Linked DNA regions of Homo sapiens: regions 1, 3, 4, 5, 6 and 7 are each linked to region 2. Evidence: promoter capture Hi-C in 16 types of primary human blood cells and fetal thymus (Javierre and others, 2016). All regions are on one chromosome and are shown on one strand. The core of a region is centred on a gene start or on the middle of the fragment in contact, and the rest is flanking DNA. Distances in the headings are between cores, read along the strand shown.

Region 1 (3,784 bases), core at 494-2,993, 470 kb after region 2:
TTTTAATTATGTAAAATATGCTTATAGTTCCAATTTTGTAACTATTTTAAAGACACATTCAGATAAATCTGTCTTCCAACTGTATCCTTCCTACCCTGTTCCCTCCCTCCTAAAGGTAACCATTATAAAAATTAATTTTCTTTGATAATCTCATTGTTTCTTTTTGAAAATATTGACATATATTCATACATATTTGTATCCCCTCTTTTTTATACTATAAACTTTGTTATTTGATTTGTTATCTTATCAGTATACCCTAGTAATATAGAGATGTTACTCATTCCTTTTTATAACTGAATAGCATTCTGACACGTGAATGTACCTTAGTTTATTCAACTGGGCCCTTATTCATGGCCATTTGAGTGTTTCCAGTCTTATATAATTACAAACAATGCTGCTGCAATAAGTAAATCTGCACATTTAAAATTTTGTATTTTTGCCAATGTATCTTTGGAATATATTTCCAGAAGTGTGATTTCTGGGTCAGAAAGAAAAATGCAAATGTAAGTTTGCTAGCTGTTGTATTCCCACCTGCAATATATGAGTATCTTTGCCCTGCAGCCTTGCCAACAGAGTGTGTTGTCAAACTGAGATTTTTGCTGATCTGATAGGCAAGAAATTGTATTTTAGTACTTTCCTTATTATAAGTGGGGTTGAACATATTTTAATTGTTTAAGGGCTATTTCCTATTTCTTTTAAAAACACTTATATGCTTATATATTTTGCTCATTTTTATATTATGTGAAATTACTTATTATTTGGAAATGACTGACAATGAGAGCATGGCATATAAAAATGTGTGTGATTTGGGTCAAAGTGACACAAATGGGTGGCACTAATTATATTTATTTGAAAACAAGATTGGAGATAAATTAAGCATACTGCAAAAAGGATGACAAAACAGTCATTAAAAGTAGACTAAAGAAATTGTTAAAGATTAAAGCAAAAACTGGTGAATCATAAAACTAATAGAATCGTTTAAAAAGGCCTGATTTACTGAAGACACTATCCCAAAATGACAAAAAATTCAAAGTAGACTAGAGGAATTATTGATGATAACTTCAGAAACTTATGAAATATAAATTTATAAACAAAATAAAATCTTTCTTTAAAAAAAGCCTGAATGATTATAAAACCAAATGCTGACTCTTAGATCAATACATGAACAAGTAGTTTTGAAAAATCTAATGAAATAGCTATGGTTAGTCTCATCAAAAAAACAAAAAGGAATAAAGACACAAATAGCAATGTTAAGAATTGGAAAGGTGACATACCTAGAAAATCAGATAAGACTTTAAAATTATAATTGAATACTGCATATAATATTATAACCATATATTATATTATAAGTGAACGTTATGTGTGTGTGTGTGTGTGAAGAGAATTTGTAGGCATGTAAGTGGAATGTTTTTTAGGAAATTGTAAATTATAAAAAATGACTTCAGGAGAAGAGATAACCTTAAAACCTTTAGGAGAATTTGAAAAACTAATTGAAGTTTACCATAAAGAAATGATGCCAAGGATATCCCCCCTTCTGCCCAGGAGTTAGAAAGCCTGAAAGAGTATTGCTCTCATCTAACAACCAGAAAATGCCTGACAACCTACAAAATCATAATATTTCTTGACTCCATCAGGGAGCTGAGGTTACAGGGCAAGTGAATAGCTTCAATCTAAGGAAAGACAGGAGCCTCCAATGGAAGCCGGGACACAAGCCCTGGCTCTCCTATGACAGGGCCCAGGTATAAGAGACACAAATGTCATACAAGATCGTAAGAATAATTCAGCTGAAGTTTTTAACTAATTGTTAGATGCCAAATGTGGGCTAATGTGGGAGTACAGAAACACTAGGAGCTGTAGACACGATGGGGGTTTGCACCCACTTCTGGGCTCTTCTCCAGTGGATCTCCACCCAGCTGCTGCAGGAAATTGTCAAGCCCCAGCTGGACTCTGTTGAGCTGCTAGAGTCGGGAGGTGGCAAACCCTCCTTCCCCCAGGGCACAGGCGAAACCCATGTGGCTGGAAAAAGTGAAAAGAAAAAGCCCTCTGTAAGGGAGGATCAGGGAACTATCCTGAGGTCAGATTGTTAGAGGAAACTAATGCTGGAGAAAGAGTAGGTTCACTGAGAAAGCCCCAGTCTCCAACACCAGGATCTTAAGGCCTGCATAAGACTAAGGTGGATCAAGACAACAGAGAAACCCCCTCCCCCTACCACCCAGCTAGCAAGCATCAGGTAATAAGCATAGTCTGCTGCTGAAAAAATAGGCAAGAGTATGAAGACCCACCCCACTCAGGTGCGAGTACTCAGTGAAGGTCTAAAATTGAGGATAGAGGAGGAACATTGAAAAAAACCCTTCAGCAAGCCATCCCTCACCCCAAGCACCAGTTAATACCAGAGGAATTTGAAGCCAGTAGTGCACTGAAGGGAACCATAATAACAACAAAACCCAAACTCAGCCCAAATCTTGACTAGATTTGCTCAACTCCCTACACCGAGAGGTGAGCAATGGCAGAGTTGTGCCCATGTTCAGGCATGGCATATCTACTGTTTATCTCAGTCTCTACTATCCTACACACAGTACCTAGCAGTCAATAAAAAATTACAAGGAAAAAAAAGTAAGAGAAAAAAAGGTCTTGGACCCAGTGGTTTTATGAGGGAGTTCTACTAAATCTTTGAGCAACACATATTTTGCTATCACTTAAGTTATTCAAGAGTATTAAAACTAGGAAGTGGAGAAAAGGGAAACAGAATATTACAGAGAATTTCATAAAGTGGGCACAGAAACTGCTTCCTATTTACAAGTCCCTGCCCATCATGCCAGGTGGTGTCAATGCAGGCAGTCAGATTCTGCCCTGGCTTGAGGCTTCTGCTCTGATCCAAAGTGGCCATGGAAGTGTGGTCTTTTCAGTTTTCCAAGGATCCCCAAAGAAATTAAATTTGTTCTGGCTTATTTGTGGATTAAATTGACCTCCCTCTAGAACAAAATTTATCTTTCTGTTTGGCCAATAGACAGGACCAAATTTCCTCACCACAACTTTATTTACAGAAACAGGCTGCTGCCCCATGAGCCATATTCTGCCAATTAGATTTTTTAAAACATTGCTGGAAAATATGATTTTTCTTGATTACTAAGTTCCACCCTCCCCACCCCCTATAACCCCCAACAAATTTTGCACTTTAGGCAACTGCCCCATAGTTCCACCTAGTCCTGGTCTCCACAGAGTCCCCTGGCCCAGAGACCCACTAGGTTCCACCCAGGGTGAGTGGGGCCTCACGTGCTGCTCTCACATCAGCTTACCTTACTGTGCCATGCACTTTGTGAGAAGCTGTTCTTTGCCAACCAAAAAAAAGCCTTCATATAAATCTTCTCCTGAGTGGGGGAAGAGGAGGGAGGGTGGACAGTTTCAAAAGCAAAGAAAACAAGAATGGAAAAGAGGAGGAAGTGGCCAGTGCTCAGTGAACCCTCAAGTGTGAAAGGCTAATCCAGAAATCACTCAGTAATCACCACCGTGAAATCAGGCAGGGCTGACATCTCTTGCTACGCCTATGCGCCCCTTCCCTGCCTCCCACAAAGCCTCACTTCCTAAACCAAAGTGACCTTCTGAAATCTGGCCAGTCTGCCTCAGCTCTTGGCCCCATGTCCCTCCTATGCAACAGCTTCTACACACCATTAGTTTCCTTCCAAAGTCCCCACTGACTTCTCATTCACAGCAATGCTCTTCCTGTTTTCGAAACAAGGGTATTGGCCCATGTGCCTGGTAAACAGAAACTAGAGTGCATAGGGCT
Region 2 (3,748 bases), core at 456-2,955:
TAGCCAGGGTGGGTAGGCAGAATTAGCTGTCAAACTTAAAGGGCAAGATGGAGAGAAAATAGGAGGATAAATGGGTATTCCTGTAGCTCAGTGTTTATGATGTAGGACAGAATCTTTGTACAGAATTGACTGGGGAGAGCAGCTCAGAACCCACCCTGTGATGGCTGAGTGCTGGCAGTCTTCTGGAGGGTGTGTGGGGCGGCTGACATGGTGGCCTGGGGGAGTGATGGAAGGCCCATCATCTATGTACTTTGACTTCTCATAAACTCCTGTGGCATGTTTTTAATAATTGATAGAATAAGTAAACAGAAAGTCAATAAGAATATAGAAGACCTGAACACTACTACTAGCCAACTTGACCTAAGTGACATTTGTAGAACACTGTATCCTCAAACAGCAGAATACACCAGAATATACATTCTTCTCAAGTGCATATGGGCCATCTACCAAGATAGATCATATTCTGGGCCATAAAATGAGCCCCAAGAAGTGTAAAACATTTTAGGTCACACAGAGTATGTTTTCTAACAATGGAATTAAATCAGAAATCAATAGGAAAATTCTTGAAAAATCCCCAAGTATTTGGAAACGAAATAATATACTTTTAAATAGCTTATCTGTCAAAGAAGATGAAAAGGGAGCTTAGAAAATATTTTGAGCTGGATGAAAAGGAAAATACAACATACCAAAATTTGTGGGATGCTGCAAAAAATAATACTTAGGAGGAAATTTATAGCACTAAGTGATTGTAATAGAAGAAAGATTTCAAATCAGTGACCTTAGTTCCCACCTTAGGAAATAAGAGCAATTAAACCCAAAGCAAACAGAAGAAAGGAAATCATATGTATGTGTTAAAATAAAACATTACATGCAGTAAAACTGAATTTTGGGGGGAAGTATACAGTTCTTTGAGGTGTTTGTTTGTTTGTTTGTTTGTTTTTGAGATGGAGTTTCACTCTTATTGCCCAGGCTGGTGTGCAGTGGCACGATCTCTGCTCACTGCAACCTCTGCCTCCCAGGTTCAAGCAATTCTCCTGCCTCAGCCTCCCGAGTAGCTGGGATTACAGGCATGCGCCACCACGCCTGGCTAATTTTTTTGTATTTTTAGTAGAGACGGGGTTTCACTATGGTGGTCAGGCTGGTTTCGAACTCCTGACCTTGTGATCCGCCCGCCTCGGCCTCCCAAAGTGTTGGGATTACAGGCTTTAGCCACTGCGCCCGGCCAGTTCTATGAGTTTTAAAACAAATGTAGACCACCACCCAATACATTGTAACCACCAGCACAATCAGGATACAAACATGTCCCACCACTTCCCACATTCCCTCAGGCTGTCCCTTCATAGTCCAACCGTCCCCTAACCCCAAGCCCTGGCAATCACTGATCTGTTCTCTCACACTATAGTTTTGCCTTTTCTGGAATGTCATAGAAATGGATTCATACAGTAAGTCTCCTTTAGAGTTGGCTTCTCTCACTTGCATAATGCCTTTTGGATTTATCCATATTGTTGAGTGCAGCGGCGTGATCTTGGCTCACTGAAGCCTTGACCTCCCAGGCTCAAGAAATCCTCCCATCTCAGCCTCCCATGTAGCTGGGAATATAAGCGGAGGCCGGGCGGGGGTCGCAGCGCCGCAGCCAGCGCAGCCAGCCCCAGGGGGCGCCATCTCCGCCGCTGCCGCCGCCGCCGCCGCCGCCGCGAGACCCCCGCCCCTGCCGCCGCCACCGCCATGGGCAACGCCCCCGCCAAGAAGGACACCGAGCAGGAGGAGAGCGTGAACGAGTTCCTAGCCAAAGCCAGAGGAGATTTCCTCTACAGATGGGGAAACCCCGCTCAAAACACCGCCAGCTCGGATCAGTTCGAACGGCTCAGGACGCTGGGCATGGGCTCCTTCGGGCGGGTGATGCTGGTGAGGCACCAGGAGACCGGCGGCCACTACGCCATGAAGATCCTCAACAAGCAGAAGGTGGTGAAGATGAAGCAGGTCGAGCACATACTGAACGAGAAGCGCATCCTGCAGGCGATCGACTTTCCGTTCCTCGTCAAGCTCCAGTTCTCCTTTAAGGACAACTCCTACCTGTACCTGGTGATGGAGTACGTGCCGGGTGGGGAGATGTTCTCCCGCCTACAGCGCGTCGGAAGGTTTAGCGAGCCCCATGCCTGTTTCTATGCCGCCCAGGTCGTCCTGGCCGTCCAGTACCTACACTCGCTCGACCTCATCCACCGCGACCTGAAGCCCGAGAATCTCCTCATCGACCAGCAGGGCTACCTGCAGGTGACGGACTTCGGTTTCGCCAAGCGCGTGAAGGGCCGCACTTGGACCTTGTGCGGGACCCCAGAGTACCTGGCCCCCGAGATCATCCTGAGCAAAGGCTACAACAAGGCCGTGGACTGGTGGGCCCTAGGGGTGCTCATCTATGAGATGGCCGTGGGCTTCCCACCCTTCTACGCCGACCAGCCCATCCAGATCTACGAGAAGATCGTCTCTGGGAGGGTGCGGTTTCCCTCCAAACTCAGCTCTGACCTCAAGCATCTGCTGCGGAGCCTGCTGCAGGTGGACCTCACCAAGCGCTTCGGAAACCTCAGGAACGGGGTTGGCGACATCAAGAACCACAAGTGGTTCGCCACAACCAGCTGGATCGCCATCTATGAGAAGAAGGTGGAAGCTCCCTTCATCCCGAAGTACACAGGCCCTGGGGATGCCAGTAACTTTGACGACTACGAGGAGGAAGAGCTCCGGATCTCCATCAATGAGAAGTGTGCCAAGGAGTTTTCTGAGTTTTAGGGGTGTGCTTGTGCCCCTGTGGGTTTTCTTTCCTTTTTGTTTTTGGTGGTTTGGGGGATGGGAGGGTTGGATTGAACAGCCAGAGGGCCCCAGAGTTCCTTGTATCTAATTTCATCCTCACCCCACCCTCCAGGGTTGGGGGAGCAGGAAGCCCAGATATTTGGAGGAACAGAAACACCAGCTGCTCCCTCACCCCCCCCCATGCCTTCCTGGTCCCTCTGTGCTTCTCTCTTTCTCCTCCCACAGGGTCCCCCTTGCCCCAGCCCCCTTCTGCCTGTTTTAAACGAGTTTCTCAGCTCTATTCAGGCCAGGTCTTGCTGTTGTATCAAGGGACACGGTGTGGAAAGAGGGGCTCAAACTTAACTCCAGCCCTGAACAGGCACCACTTACTAAGAGAGGATGAATGAAAAGCACACCTACCCTTTGGCGTAATCCTGCCTGGGAAGGAGAGAGGTTTAGTGCCATGTTCAGTGGGCTGTTTGCTAGAATAAAAAATTAAAACAAAAAACAATTAAAATCTTATTTAAGTTCCACCAGTGTCCCCTTTCCTCCTTCCTCTACTTCCACCCCTCCCACCCTTCCCACCTTACCGTGTCTCCCCATTCCATTTTAACAAATCCAGGAAGCCGACTGACTTTGGAAGGAGGCTCTGGGGTTTGAACTTCCCCCATGAACTGCTGATTTCCCCCTCCCCCCTCCCCAGGGGCATCCTCTATCACTCTTGCAAAGGTCTCAGTTCTTTTAGGAAGCTCCACTCTCTTCTTCCCCAGCAGACTTTTCTTCACCCTTGGGCTTTGGGAGCCAGAAAAGCAGCTGCCCTACTCCCTGCCAAAGAGGAGTTGTCCCCCAAAAAGACAGAGTGGGAGTTCCAAGCCCAAGTCTTTCTTCACAGCAGCATTTCCCCGAAACTCCTTAATTTTATTCTCAGCCAGATTGTGATGCCCAGCCTCTCCTTATGGGAAGGCAG
Region 3 (4,346 bases), core at 1,678-4,177, 400 kb after region 2:
CCACGGAGGGGGTGGGAGGCTCAGGCCTGGCGGGCTGCAGGTCCCAAGCCCTGCCCCGCGGGAAGGCAGCTAAGGCCCGGCGAGAAATCCAGCGCAGCGCCGGTGGGCTGGCACTGCTGGGGGACCCAGTACACCCTCCGCAGCCGCTGGTCCGGGTGCTGAGCCCCTCATTGCCCAGGGCTGGCAGGGCCGGCGGGCTGCTCCGAGTGTGGGGCCCGCCAAGCCCACGCCCACCCGGAACTCCAGCTGGCCCGCAAGCGCCGCGGGCAGCCCCGGTTCCCACTCGCGCCTTTCCCTCCACACCTCCCTGCAAGCTGAGGGAGCCGGCTCCGGCCTTGGCCAGCCCAGAAAGGGGCTCCCACAGTGCAGCGGTGAGCTGAAGGGCTCCTCAAGTGCTGCCAAAGTGGGAGCCCAGGCAGAGGTGGCACCAAGAGCGAGCGAGGGCTGTGAGGACTGCCAGCACGCTGTCACTTCTCAGAGGCAGCCATGCATGATAGCTCACACCTGTAATCCCAGAACTTTGGGAGGCTGAAGCAGGTGGATCCCCTGAGGTCCCGAGTTCGAGACCAGCCTGGCCAACATGGCCAAACCCCGTCTCTACTAAAAATATGAAAAATTAGCTGGGATCGCACCACTGCACTCCAGCCTGGGCAACAGAGCGAGACTCCATCTCAAAAAATAATAATAATAAAAAAAGGGAGGCATGTGTCAGAGGAAGCATGGGACAGATTTGAAAGCAGTTGCCTGCATTTAGGGTTTGAGACCACTGTTTTCTGTTATAAACCACATAGTGCTGTTTGACTCTTTAAAATATGGACATGTACTCACTGTGAGATGAAGGTTAGTTACTATTTAAAAATTAATAAGTACATACCTAAATCCATAAATATTTATATATTTACACAAAGCCCTGGGCTCCAGACCTAGGTCAGCCAGTGGCAATTTCTGTGTCCTGAGTAAGTCCTTTCATCTCTCTGGGTCTCAGTTTCCCAATTCGCAAGCAGAAGGTTTGAACTCTCTGGCTATTGTACCACCATCACTATTATCAAGTGATGATATTAGATATCACTAATTCACTATCATCAAAACACAAACTTGTAAAATATCTTGAAAGTTTACAAACACATTCTTTTTATTTGCTTTTTTTTTTTTTTTTTTCAGACGGAGAGTATCGCTCTGTCACCCAGGCTGGAGTGCAGTGGCACAATCTTGGCTCCCTGCAACCTCCGCCTTCCAGGTTCCAGCAATTCCCCTGCCTCAGCCTCCCAAGTAGCTGGAATTACAGGCATGTGCCACCATGCCTGGCTAATTTTTGTATTTTTAGTAGAGACAGGGTTTCACCATGCTGGCCAGGCTGGTCTAGAACTCCTGACCTCAGGCGATCTGCCCGCCTCGGCCTCCCAAAGTGCTGGAATTGCAGGCATGAGGCACTGCTCCTGGCCCCAAACACATTCTTTTTCTTAGATAAAATACTAAAACAAACCAAAACATTTTAGATTACAAAAATGGAAGTACAAAGGCTTGGACATATTTATTGGCCTTTTTTTTTTCAATGAAGTGGTTTCAGTAGCCAGGCAAGCTTTGTATGAGCTACACTTTTCACTCTAAACAATGTGGATAAATATGACCTTGAGTGTTCTCATTTTCACATGCCCCATTTTTTCTCTCAGGACAGTTTTAATAGTGATTAAACCAGAATTTAGTGTCCAGATGAGCACACGGGGAATAATCTTTTCACTGAAGAGCCCCGTATGTCCATTGCGCACCTTAGAGGTCTTGTGTGGAACTAATGAAGCACTTTGATGGCTCAGGGATTTTCATTAGAGGGAATTCATCTCCACCTCACCTCAAGCTTCATGAGCCATTTCTCTAGCTGTGCTAAACTCCCAAACAAGTAGCAGCAGAGAGCATTTCCAAAAAAAGAGAGATATCAAAGTGGCAGCTACTCCAAAGACAGAGCCTCCCCTCCAGTTTCTGCCTCCTGCAGCTTCTCCTACCTTCTTCTCTGTTCTTTTCATGCACACCACCCACACAGTCCGTTGCAGATGGATACGTGGTTCCAGTGATTTAACCTTACTTTCTCCACTCAGGCCCCTCAGGCGTGATTTGTTCTTCGGAGTCAGAGCTCGCTTCCCCAGCACCAGTGGTGTGGCTGTGAGCAGGTTTTGTTAGCTGGGTATAATTTTTAAAGTACCATTTATTTATCTGGCAAGAGCAAGCCCCAGTGATCCACCTCCATTAAAAGTTCAATCCAGAAGAGTGAATCTGACAGCTCCAGATTTCCGGCCTCAGAGCTCTTGATTAATTTTTGTGCCCAGAGTCTGAGGCGAAAGCAAGGGCGGGATTTCCTGGGTGGCTGTTGGAGGTGCATTTGGAGGCCATTACTGCCCTTCCAGCTTCTTCACTCAATTATGCTGAGCTGAGGTTCGTCACACTTTGCATAAGCGAACTCGATGAATACTTAAAAAGCCTTATTCTCATTTTACACGTGAAGAAACTGAGGCACAGGGTGGTGAAGTGGCTTGCCGAAGTTTGCACAACTAGCAATTGGTGACGTCCGATTGGAGCTGAGGTCTGTGTTGCTCTAAAGCTCGAGTCTTTTCCACTTGGGTTGCGTCTCTCATCTCCTTGAGGGCACTGCCTGCTCTGTGTCGCCAGGACTGGGCTGGAGGTGGCCACTGGGGTTTCATGCAGAGGGTCAGAGATTTGCTGAGTGAATGTGGACTGTCCCTGCTTTGGCTGCAGAAATATCTTTCCTCATTCTTGATCGCCCTCAACTTTTTGAATCCCGGGTACAGGCTGAGAAGTGTCTACAGGTGACATGCAGAGTACACCAGGACAGAATTCCAGTCCAACTTGGTCACAAAATGCATGTGCTTTTATGCCAAGTTATTGGACATGTGTCTAGAGGCATAGAGTGACTTCGCTGCTCTTTAATTGTCTTTTTTGCTGTGCCTTCTGTTTTCATTCCTCCAGCTCTGTCTTCCTGCTTGTGGTGGAACCGAAAGTCTCAGTGTAACCCTGTTCCCTAGACAGGTCTGATATCTTCTTGGCCTTGACACTGAGAACTGGTTTAGAATCTGGTTTGTACTGTCCAACCTTCCAGTTTGGGAAGATAAGTCACAGGACATCGTCTTCTAAGCAGCAAGAGTAGCCCCTGGGATAAAATTGCTGACATCTCCGTGGGGCCTCAGGGTCCTGGGACTCATGCGAGTGCAGGAGGCTCCATGTCTTTGGAGGCTGCATCAGACACATTCTAGCCTCAACTGAATGAAACCTCTGAGTTTGATTTTACATAACTGCTCTTAATACTTACTTTAAAAGAAAAAAAAAAAAAGACCTGGCAAGGACTATAAATGTTTTATTTTAAAGTAACCTTTCTTGGATATATTTTTGGTGGGGGGAGGGCACAAATAGACTTCAAATATATTACATATTCATTGCAGAACATTTAGGAAAAAAAGAAAAGCAGAAACAAGAAAAATAAATATTTTCTATAATCCCAACAACATGAATAATATTTTAAAATATGCATAGGCTTTTATTCTTTATAGACCTATCTATATTCACTTTTCTTTATACAAATGGAAATATGTTGCATTTACTGTTGTGTTACCTGACGGTAGTCTAGTTAACAGCCAATTCTCTCCATTCTGGTTTGTGAGCCAACCCTGATTTTGTTGAGACATAGGACAGCCATGTGCTGTAGGGAAAGCTGGAACCTTCTCCAGCCTGAGGGAATGAAACTTAATTGGTCTAGGTCATTCTTAATCATTCCTTTCACCTTGTCAGTGATGGACTTGGGAGTAAGCATGTGACATTATTTTGGCCAAAGAGACATCAGGGAAGTCCTTAGGGAATGTCTGGGAAAAGTTTCTTTGCTCTTTAAAAAAAAATGACTTGTAGGAAGAAACTTCCGTTTTCAAGTCTGGGTATTGTCTGAATGTATCTGAAACAATGGCAGCCAATTTGCAAACATGGGGGATGGGGGAGCAAGCTTGATGAACAAGATCAGCTGATGAACAAGATCAGAACCAGGACTGCTATTCCTTTGTTAAACTTCTGAATTAACCGATGTTGCAACCATTCCCAAACTGGACATCTTGACAGATGGTAAAATAAATAGCTATATTGTTTATGCTGTTTAAATTTTTCTGTTACTTATAGCCAAAAGCAACTTATCTAACAGAATTTCTCTTGTCATTAGATATTCTTTTTTTTTCATAATAGAAAATATTTTATTTTGAAAGTTTTAGTCATTGGGTCTACAACAGTTTTCCATACAAGGAAAATACAGTATTAAGTTATTTGTAATTGTCTTACATACTGAACAACCAATGAATGCA
Region 4 (3,794 bases), core at 495-2,994, 490 kb after region 2:
ATCTTTAAGTGGTGGTACCTATTGGCAAAAGGGCGGGGAAGCAAGTTTTAACAAATACTGTAAACACCAGAGAAGTTCTCTTTTCTGATCTCCACTTAACTCTACAAACTAACGCGTGCTTTCCACTTCTTCAGTAAAACATCCTGACTCACGTCCGTAGCTCACTAGATGTCCGTGACCAAAAGATCACTTTCTAATATGCTCACCTACTTCTCCCTTCAGCAGTTGAGTTCTGTGTTTATCAGGAGTCAGTTAAGTTTGTTCCCAATATGTTAATGCCTATTGTACTAATTATTGAGACTATGCAATTTAATTATATGTAAACCAATGAAACGTGAATGCAAATAAGAAGACTTTTTTTCTATGAAAATTAAGTTGAGTGTTTTGGAAAGAACAGATAATGGTGATTAGCTAATCCTGTCAAATTAGATGTGGGTGAGATACTACAAAATATTAGGGAGAAATTTTAAAATTATAGAAGAATTATTTTTTCAGGTTGCTTCACAATTGTCCTTAAGTTCCCGCTGTAATATAAAGGAATCAAAGACAGATATTATAGATGATGAATTATGAGTGGGAATCTTTTGAAGAAAGAGGATCACAATGGCAAACAGTATGCTCATATTAAAGAACAGGTCTTGGGCCAAAATCAAAATACTGGCAAATGCATGTACATTTATATGTTTTATGATACAAATGTAATAGGATATCTATGTGTATAGTGGACCTACTTAACTCTGTTTCTGGATTCATCAACCAAGCACTTGTCCCTTCTTCTGTTCATGTCAGAGAAGAGGGCTTCCGTGGTGCTTATGCAAGCTGAAGGGAAGAAAATGCCACATGAGGAAACTCCTAAATATGAGGACTCCCATCCTGAGCCAAGAGCCTGGGCTAATCCGGCACAGATGCCATGGAGTCATCTGCCTTCCGGGAAATATGAGTGTTTGGGAAGAAGACCACCTCACTGATGTTCAGTCTTTTCAGCCATTTTCCAGGAACCACAGAACTTCTTTAGATTTTGTATGACCCCAGGAAGGCCTGGGAAGAAGTCCCTAAAAATACCCAAGATTGAATTTTTTGCCAGCTTTCTGGAAAGGAAACTTCAAGTTAAGCTCCTTTTTTTTCTTTCTTTCTTTTTTTTTTTTGAGAAGGAGTCTCACTCTGTCGCCCAGGCTGGAGTGCAGTGGCGCGATCTTGGCTCACTGCAAGCTCCGCCTCCCGGGTTCACGCCATTCTCCTGTCTCAGCCTCCTGAGTAGCTGGGACTACAGGTGCCTGCCACCATGCTCGGATAATTTTTTGTATTTTTAGTAGAGATGAGGTTTCACAGTGTTAGCCAGGACGGTCTTGATCTCCTGACCTCGTGATTTGCCCGCCTCGGCCTCCCAAAGTGCTGGGATAATAGGCGTGAGCCACCACGCCCGGCAAGCTCCCATTTTTAAGGCTAATAAACTAATATATTTTTTCTTCCCTGAGTGTATAAATTAAACAGTCATGTATCACTTAATGATGGGGATACATTCTGAGAAATGCATCGTTAGGCAATTTCATCCTTGTGCAAACATTATAGAGTGTACTTACACAAACCTAGATGGTATATATCTTTTTATTTATATATTGTTTTTCATATGGGAAACCAAATGTCCCAGCACCATCACTAAATATCAATCATTTCCCCTAGTTGATTCGCAACATCAATATCAAGTGCCATGTAGCAGGTTTCTATACATGCTCCATTCCAATCCTATGGGGCCACCATGGAATATGTGGTCTGTTGTTGACAGAGATATCACTACGCCGTGCATGACAGTATATATGTGCTAGAATGAGTGGCCACATGATGAGGGCAGAAACTTTGTCTTATTCAGGGCTAAGGAAAGTATCTACTGCTTAGGAGATACTCAATACATCTTTGTGGAGTAAATGAATGATATATTTGATGAAAAGATGATAAGGCAAATAGAGACTCCTGTGGGCATTCCTGGAGGACATTGTGTGCATGTGGGAGGGTCAACAGTGCCGGGTTTTTACTCATGTTTTTCTTTAGAAATCACTCCTCTGATACACGTAAACCCCAAACTCTTCTCTCATGTCATCGACCATGCCTCATGGTGGGTGGGAGTTAATTTTCCTGGGGCAATTGGAGAGGCAGTTGGAATGAGGAGCAAAAAGAGGGGTTATGAACTGTGGATGTGAGTTTTCTAACATGGAGCTGGAAGCACAGAATTTCAAAAGCAGAGAGGAATGTGGATTGGTGTCATTTGATTTCTTCATGGCACAGATGAAGACACTAAAGCCCAGTGCGACACAGGATTGACCCACGGTCACACATCTGTTTGGTGGCTGAGCTGGGATAAGAACATACAGTGGGCTCCTCTACTGCATTTTCCATCATACAGTTCTGCATATAAGATCTGAGAGTGACAAGGATAAAGAGAGAAAGACAAAATGCACTGAATGGGGAGGAGCAGGGAAATCATGGGATTGCAACCCTATTGGACCAGATGAGTCCCACATCAGATGAGGAGTTGGGTAGGACTGACCAGTCTTCCTCCCTGACCAAAACCAGGCAGACAGTGGGAGAAGAGGTGTTCTCAGTTATGTGGGTTATGTGAATGTCCTGGAAACTCCAAAATAACCCTTTGTGAATAAAGGAAATAAATTAATGGAGACTTTAATCAATTATGTTAGAGTATAGCATTGTTTTTTCTAATTCCAGTGTTTTTTAGAGTGCCTAACATATTTCTTCTACAGTCAACAGTAGGAAGCAGTGAACGCTTATCTTGCTCCAAACCAAGCAGGCCTTGCATCCTTTCAAGATGGCATCTTCTGCCACCTTGCAGGGTTTTCTGGATGTTTGCTGTCCATTAATGTAGACAGGCTACAGGGGGTATTGGATCCTCTCTCTATTTAAAGTTTTGACACTATGTTTATCATGAATTTTTTGGACATTGATTTTGATTTTTTAAAAATTGCACTACGATATTTATCTTGATTACTGAGTATTTTGGCATCCACACCCACTTAAATTTTGCACCCAGTTAACCTCACATTAATCCTAGCCCACATAAATCCTAGATTAGGTTTTAACTTGTCCATACTCCCTGGAAAGACAGAGTTTCTCTTTTTACTTTCTCTCCCATCTTCTCTTTTGCTTTATGTCATTGTTATAATCCACTTTCATGTAAATTAGATCCATTAAAAAAAAAACAACCCTAACAAACTGAACTTCTTACTCTGGGACAAGCAATAGACAGGAAGGATGTAAATGATCTGAATGTCACAAGACTCAAAGTAAATAGTTAACTGATTTTTCGGAGGAAAACAATACCCTAACCAGAATCATAATCACTTATCAAGCAAGATTTGTCAGAATCTGTGGAGGGAACCTAGTGCTGGGCTGGTCTCTATGAGGAATGTGCATTTGTACAGTCGGGGAAGGATTGGAGCCATGGGTGGAGAGTGAATAGGTGTGGATGACGATAATTACCATAGTTCATCTTTCGGGGCAGGCAATACAAACCAGAAATGCAGGTAGGTCATCCAACAACAGAAAACACTGACATTCTGGCATCCATAAAATAGAGATTTATAACAAATGCTACTTTCTCCTGATCCCTAGGATCAACTAACAACACTCCCACTTTGTTTAAAACCTGCTAAACCTGAATGCCAGGCTTTCTCTCCAGATTTCATGCAAACATTCATTTTTAGTCAATATGCTTTTGCATAGTCTAAGGGAGTGGTTCTTGAACTTGAACATGCACCAGTATCCCCTGGTGGGTCTGTTAAAGT
Region 5 (4,141 bases), core at 146-2,645, 450 kb after region 2:
TTGGGTGGAAGAGATGTCAGCAGCACTGTGAAAGAGGGGATCTGAGGATGGAAGATGGTGAGCTTCAGAAGGGAAGAGCAGCAGTGTTAGCCCAGCTGAGGAGGCAAAGGACAGCAAGGGCACACCTGCAGAAGCAGAAAAACATCAGCACCTCACACAGCACTTACGATGTACCAGAGACTTTTCCAGGCATTTTATAAGCATATTCAAACCTGTTAACCACCCTATGACACATTATTAGTACCCCCTTTTACAGATGGGGAAAATGAGGCATGGAGAAGTTAAATAACCTGCTCAATATCAGACAGCCAGTAAGTGACGGAGCCAGTAATTAAGCATTGGCAACTTGCCTCCCGAGGCTGGGGTCTTAACCAAATAATTTATTCTCTTCCATACACAATCATTCACCAGGGACAGCCCCAGAAATATTAATACATGGAAAGGCATTGAATAATACACAAATGAAGTTAGTGAATTAGGGCTTTTTAACACAGCAAGTTCTATGTGTATAAAGTATATGAGGCAAACAATAAAACCCCTTGTCAAATCTGAAAATTTCTAAATAACTTACTTTATGTTTAGGAGTACTGTTGTCTTACAGGCACTTCTGGCTGGAATATACATCTTTATATATCTAATGTTTCCATGTATCTATCTTTTTAAAAACACACTCAAGGGTCTACATGCATGTCTAACTGGTAAGGATTTTCTTTTTTAATAATCATCATCTGGCTGGAATTTTTAACTAAACCCATGTCAGTTGAGTGATATTATGTTTTTGTGAAAGCATTGTCGAGAGGATGTCTAGAATAGTTCATTATTAATGTTCCTCTGACAACATGCCACAAAGGATTTTAGAGAAAGACTTTTGATGCTCATTCTCTTAAAACCATTTTCTTTACCTACTATTCATATAAACACCCATCAAAAGCCTCATATTATTTCATTAACTGCAATCTTGTTACTCAATCTTTCAGTAACCAGTAATATAAGTCATGAGGCGACTTGCCTACTTGTTAGAACCAATTTTTTTTTTTTTTTGAGACGGAGTCTCGCTCTGTTGCCCAGGCTAGAGTGCAGTGGCGTGATCTCGGCTCACTGCAAGCTCCGCCCCCCGGGTTCAAGCGATTCGCCTGTCTCGGCCTCTCAAGTAGCTGGGACTACAGGTGCCTGCTACCACGCCCGGCTAATTATTGTATTTTTAGTAGAGATGGGGTTTTACCATATTGGCCAGAACTCCTGGTCTCGAACTCCTGACCTTGTCATCTGCCTGCCTCAGCCTCCCAAAGTGCTGGGATTACAGGTGTGAGCCATGGTGCCTGGCCAGAACCAAACTGAAATGTAATATCCCAGGTCGTAAGTTCAGACTTTACTTCCTCCTGTCGTTTCTGCACCCAGAGGTGATGGTCTGAAGAAGAAAGTCCTTTGGAAAAGTGAAAGTTAGCATAAGCATAGAACTTACTTCCACATCAACTGATTGGGTGGTCTATGTATGATAACGATGACAATGCCTGGCACCTGGTAAGCAATTATTTATTACGATTATTAAATCATCAAATGGCTATTATTATTATTCCTTTTGGGGTCAGTGCTCTCTACTTCGTGGCTGTAGAGATTTTTGTTTGTTTCGTTTACTGCAGAATTGCGAGTGCCTCTTAGAGTAGTACCTGTCACATAATAGGGACTGAATAAATATTTGTTGAATATTAGTTAACATAGCTTTACACCAACCTAATCTACTTATGCATGGGGCAATTTGTGGACAGCAGGGCTATCCTTACCTCATTTCCTTTCTTTGATCCCATTTAAGTTCAGGTCTGCCCAAGTCCTGACCTCTGACTATATCCAGTTTTCATCTGTGCTACTTCCTTTTGGACTTTCAAATTAATCCTGATTTCCTTGGTTTGACCATGGTACCCTATAACAAGTGACACTCTGTTCTTTTCCTGCCTGGTTACTTAAGGGAGGAAATCCTGCCCTACCTCTCACCTTGAGAACAAACTCTACCTCCAGCCTCACTGATTTTTTTCAAATATTTATCAACTACGTAGCAGGCAATCTGCTAGGCTCTGGGGACACAATGAAGAAGAAGAAAGGCAGGTTCCCTAGCCTTTGTGGGATTGGGCTGTAATTTGTTTTCTTAATATATTAATACCCAGAGGTGGGAAGGAACAAAGCCAGGTTCATCCAATGAACAGGTTGCAGAGCCATGAAGAGAGAGAATACGGCCACACTGATTAGGCACCCAGCCTGGCTTCCTGACAAATAGCCTCACCGAAGCAAGTGACCCCCTTACCACTACCCTCTCTCCTCTCTCTCTCCTCGCTTGTGTTCCAGCTGCACCCCTTTCCCATTCTGAATTGTCCAGGTTATGTGTCATGGACCATGATAGAATGACTCATCTTTTCAGAGGGCACCCATCTGCATCAGATTCCACATCTTGGGTTGCTATGTCTTGAGTTGCTAAAATAAGAATCAGAATGTTTCTTATTCTTTGCTCTCTGTGAGTCAAGCCTTGGCCACCAGAAAAGCCCTGGTTGCCCTAAAGAACTTGGAGTCAGCCGGTCACAGTGGCTCACACCTGTAATCCCAGCACTTTGGGAGGCCGAGGCAGGTGGATTACCGGAGGCCAAGAGTTCAAGACCAGCCTGGCCAACATGGTGAAACCCCGTCTCTACTAAAAATACAAAAAACATTAGCCAGGCATGGTGGCACATGCCTGTAATCCCAGCTACTCAGGAGGCTGAGGCATGAGAATTGCTTGAACCCAGGAGGCGGCAGTTGCAGTGAGCCAAGATTGCGCCACTGCACTCCAGCCTGGGTGACAGAGTGAGACTCTGTTTCAAAAAAAAAAGGAGAACTTGGAGTCAGTAGGGCAAAATTGTCCTTCTTTGACCTAGAAGGCTATTGTGTTTATGTTCCTCAGGATGCAAAGGGAAGATGAAAAAAGGAGCTAATGATCATTCTACATTTACTTGTGTCTACGGGCACCTTATGAAAATTACTTTTAGACAGATGCTATGTCTTTCCCCTAAACTAGTGGTTCTACAACATTACAGAATGCCCTGGAAGGCTTGCTAACATACAGATGGCTGGGACCAACTCCCAGACCATTTTTTTGGGTTTTTTTTTTTTTTTTTTTTTTTTTTTTTTTTTTTAGATGGAGTCTTGGTCTCTCGCCCAGGCTGGAGTGCAGTGGTGCAATCTAGGCTCACTGCAACCTCTGCCTTCCGGGTTCAAGCGATTCTTGTGCCTCAGCCTCCCAAGTAGCTGGGACTACAGGTGCATGCCACCATGCCCAGCTAATTTTTTGCATTTTTAGTAGAGATGGGGTTTTGCCATGTTGGCCAGGCTGGTCTTGAACTCCCGACCTCAGGTGGTGTGCCCGCTTCGGCCTCCCAACGTGCTGGGATTACAGGCATGAGCCCACTGTGCCTGGCCCAACTCGCAGTTTGTGATTCAGTGGCTCTAGATTCAGTGGAACCTGAGAATTTGCCTTTTAAACAAATTCCCAGCTGATGCTGCTGCTGCCGGACAGGAGACTACATAATCCTCAACAATCCCACTGTTTCCATTGTTCCCTAAATAAACAATCCAGACCTAGCAGGCTTGTATACTTTCTCTTCCATGCCCTTTTGGTACCTTTGTACCTTAAATATCAGGGAGAATGCTGATTTGCTTCGTATACCAGGGACTTAGTAATGCTTTGTCCACCAAATATCTCACACCTGAGACCCCAGGGAAGTTGCGTTTCAGTCTCTGATGACCAACACCGCATACCAAGTTTCTCCTTCCAAAATTGGGTTGGAATGTTGGGTTGTTTAAAGTTTATTCTTATGAAAACCCCATGATAACACAAAAATAAGCTCCACAAACTCTTTTAAAGCTTTTCTTTGACACATTGATTCCACATTGCATTTCCAGAAATTTGTGTGTTTTAGAAGATACCATCAAAGTTTTATCTCATCATAATTATAATCCCTGTGAGTAAAATGCATGATCTAAAAGTCCCAGGACTTTTAAAATTTAAGCTTTGTATCTAGTAAATGAATTATTGAAGCAATCTCTGCAATTTGCGTACTGTTCTCAATTTCCTGTAGACACGTGGGGAGGAGGTGGCAGGGAAGCTTGTTAGAAATAG
Region 6 (4,007 bases), core at 239-2,738, 380 kb after region 2:
AACTTCTTTAAAGCAGTGGAGTTTTTTTGGTATTCATTTATGTATTCAACAGATATCTTTGAGCTCTGACAATGTCCAAACACTGTACTGAGTGCTCCACGCACAGTGCTGCAGTGAGCAGCCTCTGGAGATGTGTGTGAAACATGCAGATATGGTTCTGAATCATGATAGATAGAAGGAGCGGGAATAATGGTAGGTGGAGAAAAGCCCCTTTGTTTTGGGTGGTCAGTCAAAGCTTCTATGAGGGAAGAATATTTATGCCAAGACTTGGCAGATACCAGGGACCCAGTTGGGTAAAGAATGAAGCAAAGAGAAGAGAGGAGAGCAGGAATGCATTTCTGGAATAAGGAACAGCATTTGCAAAATTCTGGAGGTGTAAAAAGTTTGGCAAGTTTGAGAAACAAGCAGTGGGGCTGGAGCGTAGGGAATCGGGGGAGAGGCTGAAGAGCTGAAGATGAGGTGGAAGTGGGGCTACATTGACATGACCTACTGAGAGACAATCACTTGACAGAGGATGAAGGAAGTCACAGCTATCTGATTAGGGACCCACTGTTCATGTAAGAACTATCAGAAATGAAATGATCATTTTCCCTGTGAAATTATAAACTCAGTCAGTGGAGAATTGATTCAATTTTCATAAAGTCATTTCAAATTTCATATAGATTAATTTCATATAGTCATGCAATATCTGCATGTTTCACACACATCTCCAGAGGCTGCTCACTGCAGCACTGTGCGTGGAGCACTCAGTACAGTGTTTGGACATTGAATAAAATGTGGCACACTTATTTCTGTGCAAGTTAAGAACTTGTTGGGTGGCTTGCTAGCAAAATTTTTCTCCCTTAACTCTAGGGAATAATATCTGGGCCACAGTTTCCAAACTGGTGTTCCACAAGCTGACTTTGGTCCACAGGCATAGCTTCTTTGGCCCGGACAGTATTTTTACAAAATCTAAATAAGTTGCAGGCCAGGCGCAGTGGCTCGTGCCTGTAATCCCAGCACTTTGGTAGGCCAAGGCAGGCAGATCACTTGAGGCCAGGAGTTCAAGACCAGCCTGGCCAACATGGTGAAAACCCCATCTCTACTAAAAAAAATACAAAAATTAGCCGGGTGTGGTGGCACATGCCTGTAATCCCAGCTACTCAGGAGGCTGAGACAGGAGAATCATTTGAACCCCGGAGGCAGAGGTTGCAGTGAACTGAGATCACGCCACTGCACTCCAGCCTGGGTGACACAGTGAGACTCTGTCTCAATAAATAAATAAGTTGCAGCAGCTGAAACTGCTATGTGTTCAGCAAACCTATTTCCTTCTACAGTTGGTGCACAGCTGCACTACGTTTCCCTGCGTCCCCAGCAAGTAGGAGGAACCATATGACGAGTTCTGCCAATGGATATGAACAGAAGTGCTGGTCACTGTTTCCAGGCCTTGATGGTAAAAATCCTCCTCCCAGCCCTCCACGTTCTCTATCTGTCCCCATCTGCAACTGAATGCAGAGAAGGAAGGTGTCATAGAAGATGCAGAGCCACATGATGAAAGGAGCCTGGCTCCCTGGATGGTGGAACAGTCTCCACAATGACCCTCATTGGACTGTGATGTGAGTGAGATTGAAACATCATTGTGTTCGCCACTGGAATTTGAGTTTGTATGCTGCAACAGTGTCTTTGTTTGGGTTCCTCCCAGGATCAGGTTCTGAGATATGGATTGGTGTCCAAGTAGTTTATTGGGAGGTGATCCCAGGAAACATCAGTATACAGGCAAGTGGGAGAGTGAGAAGGAAAAGGGATGGATTCCAATGAATGGCACATTATCTACCAGTTTGTACTGTGGCAGCTGGAGCTCAGTCACACAAGGAAACTCTGGGAGGCAATACAGGACATATCTCAGAGCTATCCTAACTGAAAGGTAAGACTATCTATCATATTTATATACTTTCCTCTCATTGTTTGAGAGCTGCTTCCAAGGGCATTAATGTTTTAGCATTCCTACATGTGCTGAATGCAGGTCAAGTGTGTGCACAGTGTCTTCAGGCAGAGTTGAAGGCAGTCACACTAGGCAGCCTCACCTGCAGAGGGGAGTGCTGAGTGGATATGAGTGGAGCACCAACAGCATCTGCTAAGAATGTTTAGCACACACTGTGGCCAAGACTTAAAATTAGGTGACTTAACATAAAATTGGAGTTTCTGACTTCCTCCAAAAAATAAGAAGATAGTCAACATTGAGCCTACATTTCTGTATGGCAATAACTGGCTGGAGCTGACTAGTGATTGACACTTTACATGGGGGTAGGGTCTCTAATCTCCATGGTCCCCATAACCCCCACCAATCCTCTCTGTCACCCAGGCTGGAGTGCAAAGCCATGATCTTGGCTCACTGCAACTTCTGGCTCCTAGGTTCAAGTGATCCTCCCACCTCAGCCTCCTGAGTACTGGGATTATAGGCGCCACCACACCTGGCTAGTATTTGTATTTTTAGTAGAGATGGAGCTTCATCCTTTTGGCCAGGCTGGTCTTGAACTCCTGATCTCAAGTGATCCGGCCGCCTTGGCCTCCCAAAGTGCTGGGATTACAGGCATGAGCCACCGTGCCCGGCCTACTGGCCCACCTTATGATTCTTTCTGTAGGCATTTGAATCTGTAACCCCAGGCCTTCTACTAGAACAAACCTTGTGTTTTGTTCATTTCCTCCCATCTTTCTCAATCCAGTTGCATTTTCTTCCCTCTGTACCCCACTTCAAAAGCTTCTCAAAATGTACTTTCTTGATGAGGACTTCCCTGACCACTTCACCATACTTCTATGGCCATCTATAGCTGTGCCATCCCATATGGTAGCCACTGGCCACATTTGGCTATTTTAATTTTAATTTCAGTTAATTAAAGTTAACTAAGCTAATAAAGATAATTAAAATTTAAAAATGAGTTCCTCCATCATACTAGCTACATTTCATGTGCTCCATAGCCATAGGTGGGTAATATATTGGATATGTCACATCTTGGACAGCACAGATACAATACATTTGCATGATGACAGAAAGTTCTGTTGGACAGTGCTGACCTGTATCATAATTCTTCTTGTAGGTGCTTTATTGTTTTCCGTAAGTATTTACCTCTTAAGGTGAAATCATCTTTAAAAAATGAGAGCCAGTGTGTTCCACTTGTCTCATATTCCTGCTCACAGTCAAGTACCTAAGCGATTGCTTGTAGTATTATTGCTGATGTTTCTCAAGTTGCTGAATGAGGTGCGGTTACCAGCGTCCCCTGTAGTCCCATTCAGGGAGACATTGCTCGCTCTCCTGTCCTCTTCAGGCTTATTTGGAAGTCTGAAGACGCTGCCTAGGGAGAAAAGAGACAGGGATTTCAACATCATACTCTTTTAGGATTGGAAGGAAACTCATTAAGGCCACTTATTGTTTCCTACTTTAAAAAAAAGTAACCTGTACTTTGGTGATTTATTTTTTATGTCTTTATTGTATTTAAAATTCAGTAAGAATTGGGACATGAAAACATCACGGTAAAACATCCTGATTTGGGAGTTTGACAAACAAGGGTGGGATCGCAGCTCTGTCATTTATTAGCTACAAGACTTCACACCATTTACTTGCCTTCTCTAAGCCTCAATTTATTCCAAGGAGAATAATAACAATATCTACCTCATGCAGTTTTGATGAGGATTAAATGAGATAAATGCCATAGGAATTATTGTTATCAACAAAAAAATCAAATCCAAAGGAAAAGCAAGCAAGGTGAGAATAGACCTACAGTTGTGTGCCTATTGGAAGGGATCAAAGCAGATCATGCATTCAGAAAATTCCTTCCAATAGAAATGTGTGCACAGTTGCAGGGGATCCATTTTACAAACACTAATTTCCTTGGAAAATATTAATGTATTTTCATTAGCGTGGAGACTAGAGACTAGAGTTATGGGGCTGGCATTGCACCCTCCCCTTGCCCTACTCTGCCAAACAAATAATATCTCAAATTAAAGCTGCCTTTTGGTGGAAAAAAAAAAAG
Region 7 (4,203 bases), core at 1,580-4,079, 360 kb after region 2:
TCACATAGTTGGATTCATACAGTATGTATCCTTTGTAGACTGGCTTCTTTCACTCAGTAACATGCAGGAAAGATTTCTACATGTCTCTTCATGGCTTGATGGCTCATTTCTTTTCAGCTCCCAGAAATATTACATTGTCTGTATGTATCATAGTTTATTAGTCCATTCACCTCCCGAAGGACGTCTTGGCTGCTTCTAAGTTTTGGCAATGATAAGTGAAGCTGCTATAGACATCTATGTGCAGGTTTTTGTGTAAGATGTAAGTCTTCAACTCTTTTGGGAAAATTCCAAGGAGCACAACTTAATCGTGTGTTTAGTTTTGTAAGAAACTGCCAAACTGTCTTCCAACATAGCTGTACCATTTTGCATCCCTACCAGCAGTGAATGGAGGTTCCTGTTGCTCCACATCCTCACCAGCATTTGGTGTTGTCAGTGTTCTGGAATTTGGCCATTCTAGCAGATGTGTAGTGTTTCCCTTTTAATTTTTTAAAGATCAATATTGACACTCCCTTTAAAATGGAGGCTGTGTGTGTGTATCTCTGATTTCATATTGACCATTCTTCAATTAGATAAGGAATAATATTTTTCCAGCCCGTTCTCCTCCCTTTGAATGTTGTATGAAAAGAAAGTAAAAGTTACCAAAGCAAATTCAAGAAATTGAGAGGAAACAGCATTGTTCTTCCTCAGAGAAGAAAGTAAAATCATCTTTGAGAACAATTTGGGTGGCCTGCATTATCTGGAAGCATTTATGTAAGCTTGGATTTGCCTGTTCCAATATTTGGTAGAACTCGCTATTAAAATAATTTCGACCTGGTGGTAGTTCTTCACTTTCCCCTCCATTTTCTCCTCTTTCTTCTTCCTTTTTGGGGTGGTAGAATAGAGTTTTATATAATTATAGATTCAGTGTCTTCAATGATTATAGATTCCTTTGGTTTTCCATTTCTTCCTGACTCCGTTATGCAAAATTGTATTTTCCTTGGAAATTGTTCACTTTGTATAAATGCTCAAATTTATTTGTATAAAGTCCATATGATTTTATTATTTTGATATCTGCTTTATCTTAGTTTATCTTCCCTGTTTCATCTATTTGTACTGTCTTTTTAATTCTTAAAAATTTTCCCCCAAATGTATCCGTTTTACTAAACAAAATATTTGATTTGGTTGACTTTCTCTATTGTGTTTAACAGGAAGAAAAACTTATTTTCCACTCCTATGATTTATGTGTGAATTGATTTCCCTAAATAATCCAGATTTCTTTCCCCATTTCTTACTCTCTGCATGAAGGTTAACTTGAGTGTCTGTTGTCAGGTGACAGCCATTGGTCCTCACTTCTTGGTTGGGTTGATGTAAACCATCAAAAATTCTAAGCATGGAGAATTAGATTTCTTTTCACCCTCCAGTCCAGTGCAAGATAACAATCCTGGGTGTGTGTGTCTGCATCTCTCTGGTATGTAGTTCCAAGTTCTACAAACTAGAGGGTGGGCAGGGTATTAGTATTAGTAGATCTGTTTGGCTCTTACTCTTAGTCACACCCTCTAACATAATTTATCATTAATAAAAGTGATAATTTGGTCTTCAGATCTGCGACTCTGTTGATGTTACAGTGGATTCAGAATTTAAGAGACAACAAGGAAGTTATTTATTTGGCTCTCTTACACTCCAACAAATTTCTGATTTTAATTTTACTAATTTGTGCTGTTTTGTATTATGTAGTCCCTTTTTTTTCTTTCTTTAGATTACTTGATGTTCCTTTCAGCTGCTTTTACTTATATTACTGTTCCAATGAGTTTTAAATTTTATTAATTATTTAATTTTAAATAATTATAACTTCCATTATAATTTCTTCTTTGACTCCTGAATTAATTACAGATCTGTGTTTGAAAGATTTTTTAAAATTTTATTTCTTAACAATAGCATATTATGAGGATGTGCTTTCTGATGACCATAAAAACCCCTACAATTCTAAAAGGATAAAGTTCTTTACAAGACATGAGCATTTAAGGAAAGATGAAGAAAACAACTGAAATATCTGGCTGTTAACATATCAACCTAGAATAACTTAAAGAAGCAATATCACTATTTTTCTAAGTCTGAATTTCCCCCTTTAAGTCTTACAACTTGTGCCCTATGTATATGATTACTTTAATATTCTTTAAATGGTATTTTCCTATCATGATATTCCTAATGTAATATTTTTACATTATTTTTAATCATTCTAATGTCTTAAACAAGACAACAAATTATGCTCGAGATATTTTAAGAATTCCTTGTGTGTACACATGTGCATTTCAACATAACCAGCATACATCAATATACCTATTTTTTTTTTTTTTAAACTGTGGGGCTGGGCATGGTGGCTCACAACGGTAATCTTAGTACTTTGGGAGGCTAGGGTGGGTGGATCACCTGAGGTCAGGAATTTGAGACCAGCCTGGCCAACATGGTGAAACCCTGTCTCTACTAAAAATACAAAAATTACCCAGGAGTCCCAGCTACTCAAGAGGTTGAGGCAGGAGAATCGCTTGAATCTGGGAGATGGAGATTGCAGTGAGCCAAGATTGCGCCACTGTACTCCATCCTGGGAGAGAGAGCAAGACTCTGTCTTTAAATAAATAAATAACATTTTAAAAAAATAAAATAAACTATGGTAGGAACGGCCTTTATTGGCTGCAGCAGGAAGTGCCAGAGGGGATACAGTGTCTGCAGACTAGATTGCTGCCCTCCAAAAAAAGGACGTATCTGCAGTTAATAATAATACCTTAATATTGTTAAATATCTTGTGTTTACATCTGATTGTATTGTATGTTTTTAACACTTTGAATTAGGAACCAAATACAATCTATTCATTGCAATTAGTTCATAGTTCTTCTAAATTTCTTTCGATCTATAAATTCCTCTTCCACATTTTTTTCCTTAAAACTTTTTGTTGAAGAATCTGATTCATTCTTTTAAATTCCCCACAATCTGGATTTTGCTGGTTGTATCCCTGTGATATTAACTCTTTTCCCTTGCCTTTTTATTTCCTGTAAGCCAATAGTTAATCTAGAGCCTTCAGTTTATATTTCATTTTGTTTTGTGTTTTGCAAGACTCCTCCACAGCTGGTGATGTGTGTTGATATAAGGAAGTATATAATGTCTGATTGTCTCTCTTTTTGTCACATTAGCAGCTATGGATGACCATTGTCTAGGTCCATTATTTCCTAAGGCATGTAAAATGATGACATTCTATCATTCCTTCTTCAGCTATTAGCTAAACACTTGTATAAGTTATTTCGCAAATATTTTTGTTTACTCTGAGTTGCAGTTCATACAGTAATGTTAGGATAAATTATGCATTATTTTTCTTTTTTTATACCAGATCTCAAAACAATATAGTTGCTCTATATGTCTATCATCGTACCCTGGCATCCTCCACTGTGATCACACAGGCTCTGTGCAGTATCAGTATGAAGTCATGGGTTTTACGCATTTGATCTATTTTAACCCATGTCAGTTATTATTCTTATTTGTGTTCAAATTGTCCCATCTTTGGCCAACGGGAGTTTTTCAGGATGGCTTCCACGTCATTTTGATATGACTTCATCGTCTTTGATAGTTCCTTGCTGCTCATATGACAAAATATCCCAGATTCATTTTAGATATTTTCTGAACAGATCTGGAATTAGCCTTGTATATCTTATTTCAGTGCAAAGTGATATTTTGCATTTAAAAAAGTGGCACTTATTGAGATAAAGTGTAGTTATTGTTTCTCAGTATTTTCAGTGACAGAGTTTCTCTGGTTTCTTTATCTTTGCCTTTGGTATTCTGCACTTATACTATGATGTGTCTAAGTGTCCTGCTTTGAATACTGCATCTTCCTACTCTCTATTCTGTCCTTCTGAAAGTCCTATTAAATGTATGTTAGACCTTTTCATTCTTTAAACACTGTTTTTTATCCTCATTTTAATATTTTTAATCTCTTTATTTCTCAGTGCTACATTCTAAGTAGTGTCTAGGATCTATATTCCAGTTGGTTCATGTTTTTTTCAGTTGCATTTTACTTGTACTTACCATTTTCCCAGGTTTTTAATTTTATAGATTACATTTAAATTTTTAGAAGTCCTTTTAGTTAATTTCCAATTCAGCCTGTTCAGTTTTCATAGTTGTTCTTTTCACATATTTTCATTTTTTCCTTTAAGTCTTACTCATTTTGAAAGTTTATTT

Evidence for each region. Contacts are between HindIII fragments. The CHiCAGO score rates a contact against its expected background, and 5 or more counts as called.
Region 1: a fragment that was not itself captured here is called in contact with the fragment with the promoter of PRKACG in region 2 in 11 of 17 cell types (total B cells, monocytes, naive B cells and 8 more); the score reaches 10.3 in total B cells.
Region 3: a fragment that was not itself captured here is called in contact with the fragment with the promoter of PRKACG in region 2 in 13 of 17 cell types (M0 macrophages, monocytes, M1 macrophages and 10 more); the score reaches 12.5 in M0 macrophages.
Region 4: a contact is called between a fragment that was not itself captured here and the fragment with the promoter of PRKACG in region 2, in 2 of 17 cell types (monocytes and M2 macrophages). The highest score is 5.1, in monocytes.
Region 5: a fragment that was not itself captured here is called in contact with the fragment with the promoter of PRKACG in region 2 in 16 of 17 cell types (naive CD4 T cells, total B cells, erythroblasts and 13 more); the score reaches 20.4 in naive CD4 T cells.
Region 6: a fragment that was not itself captured here is called in contact with the fragment with the promoter of PRKACG in region 2 in 11 of 17 cell types (M1 macrophages, M2 macrophages, M0 macrophages and 8 more); the score reaches 13.3 in M1 macrophages.
Region 7: a fragment that was not itself captured here is called in contact with the fragment with the promoter of PRKACG in region 2 in 13 of 17 cell types (M1 macrophages, megakaryocytes, neutrophils and 10 more); the score reaches 12.1 in M1 macrophages.

What each region holds. Positions count from the first base shown.
Region 1 is chr9:68,546,637-68,550,420 of GRCh38, reverse strand. All of the region lies in intron 2 of TMEM252-DT (TMEM252 divergent transcript), which reads right to left. Among named protein-coding and RNA genes, the nearest start is that of LINC01506, 1.9 kb to the right of the region's middle. The HindIII fragment of the contact is 9,054 bases long and covers 1-3,784 here.
Region 2 is chr9:69,012,070-69,015,817 of GRCh38, reverse strand. It overlaps PRKACG (protein kinase cAMP-activated catalytic subunit gamma), which reads left to right and starts at 1,705. Exons shown (of 1, transcript NM_002732.4): 1 at 1,705-3,314. The coding sequence starts at 1,726. The coding sequence ends at 2,781. The HindIII fragment of the contact is 8,295 bases long and covers 1-3,748 here.
Region 3 is chr9:68,612,973-68,617,318 of GRCh38, reverse strand. The region is part of intron 2 of TMEM252-DT (TMEM252 divergent transcript); the gene reads right to left. Among named protein-coding and RNA genes, the nearest start is that of LINC01506, 69 kb to the right of the region's middle. RefSeq lists an enhancer at 37-538. The HindIII fragment of the contact is 2,145 bases long and covers 1,855-3,999 here.
Region 4 is chr9:68,523,407-68,527,200 of GRCh38, reverse strand. The region is part of intron 10 of PGM5 (phosphoglucomutase 5); the gene reads right to left. Among named protein-coding and RNA genes, the nearest start is that of TMEM252, 16 kb to the left of the region's middle. The HindIII fragment of the contact is 9,592 bases long and covers 1-3,794 here.
Region 5 is chr9:68,562,927-68,567,067 of GRCh38, reverse strand. The region is part of intron 2 of TMEM252-DT (TMEM252 divergent transcript); the gene reads right to left. Among named protein-coding and RNA genes, the nearest start is that of LINC01506, 18 kb to the right of the region's middle. RefSeq lists an enhancer at 4,128-4,141. The HindIII fragment of the contact is 4,987 bases long and covers 1-3,888 here.
Region 6 is chr9:68,632,357-68,636,363 of GRCh38, reverse strand. TMEM252-DT (TMEM252 divergent transcript) reads right to left here. Exons shown (of 5, transcript NR_187592.1): 4 at 3,104-3,325. LOC105376071 (a long non-coding RNA gene) reads left to right here and starts at 1,361. Exons shown (of 3, transcript XR_929902.3): 1 at 1,361-1,595; 2 at 1,682-1,903. The HindIII fragment of the contact is 2,502 bases long and covers 238-2,739 here.
Region 7 is chr9:68,653,554-68,657,756 of GRCh38, reverse strand. No RefSeq gene overlaps it. Among named protein-coding and RNA genes, the nearest start is that of PIP5K1B, 50 kb to the left of the region's middle. The HindIII fragment of the contact is 4,143 bases long and covers 758-4,203 here.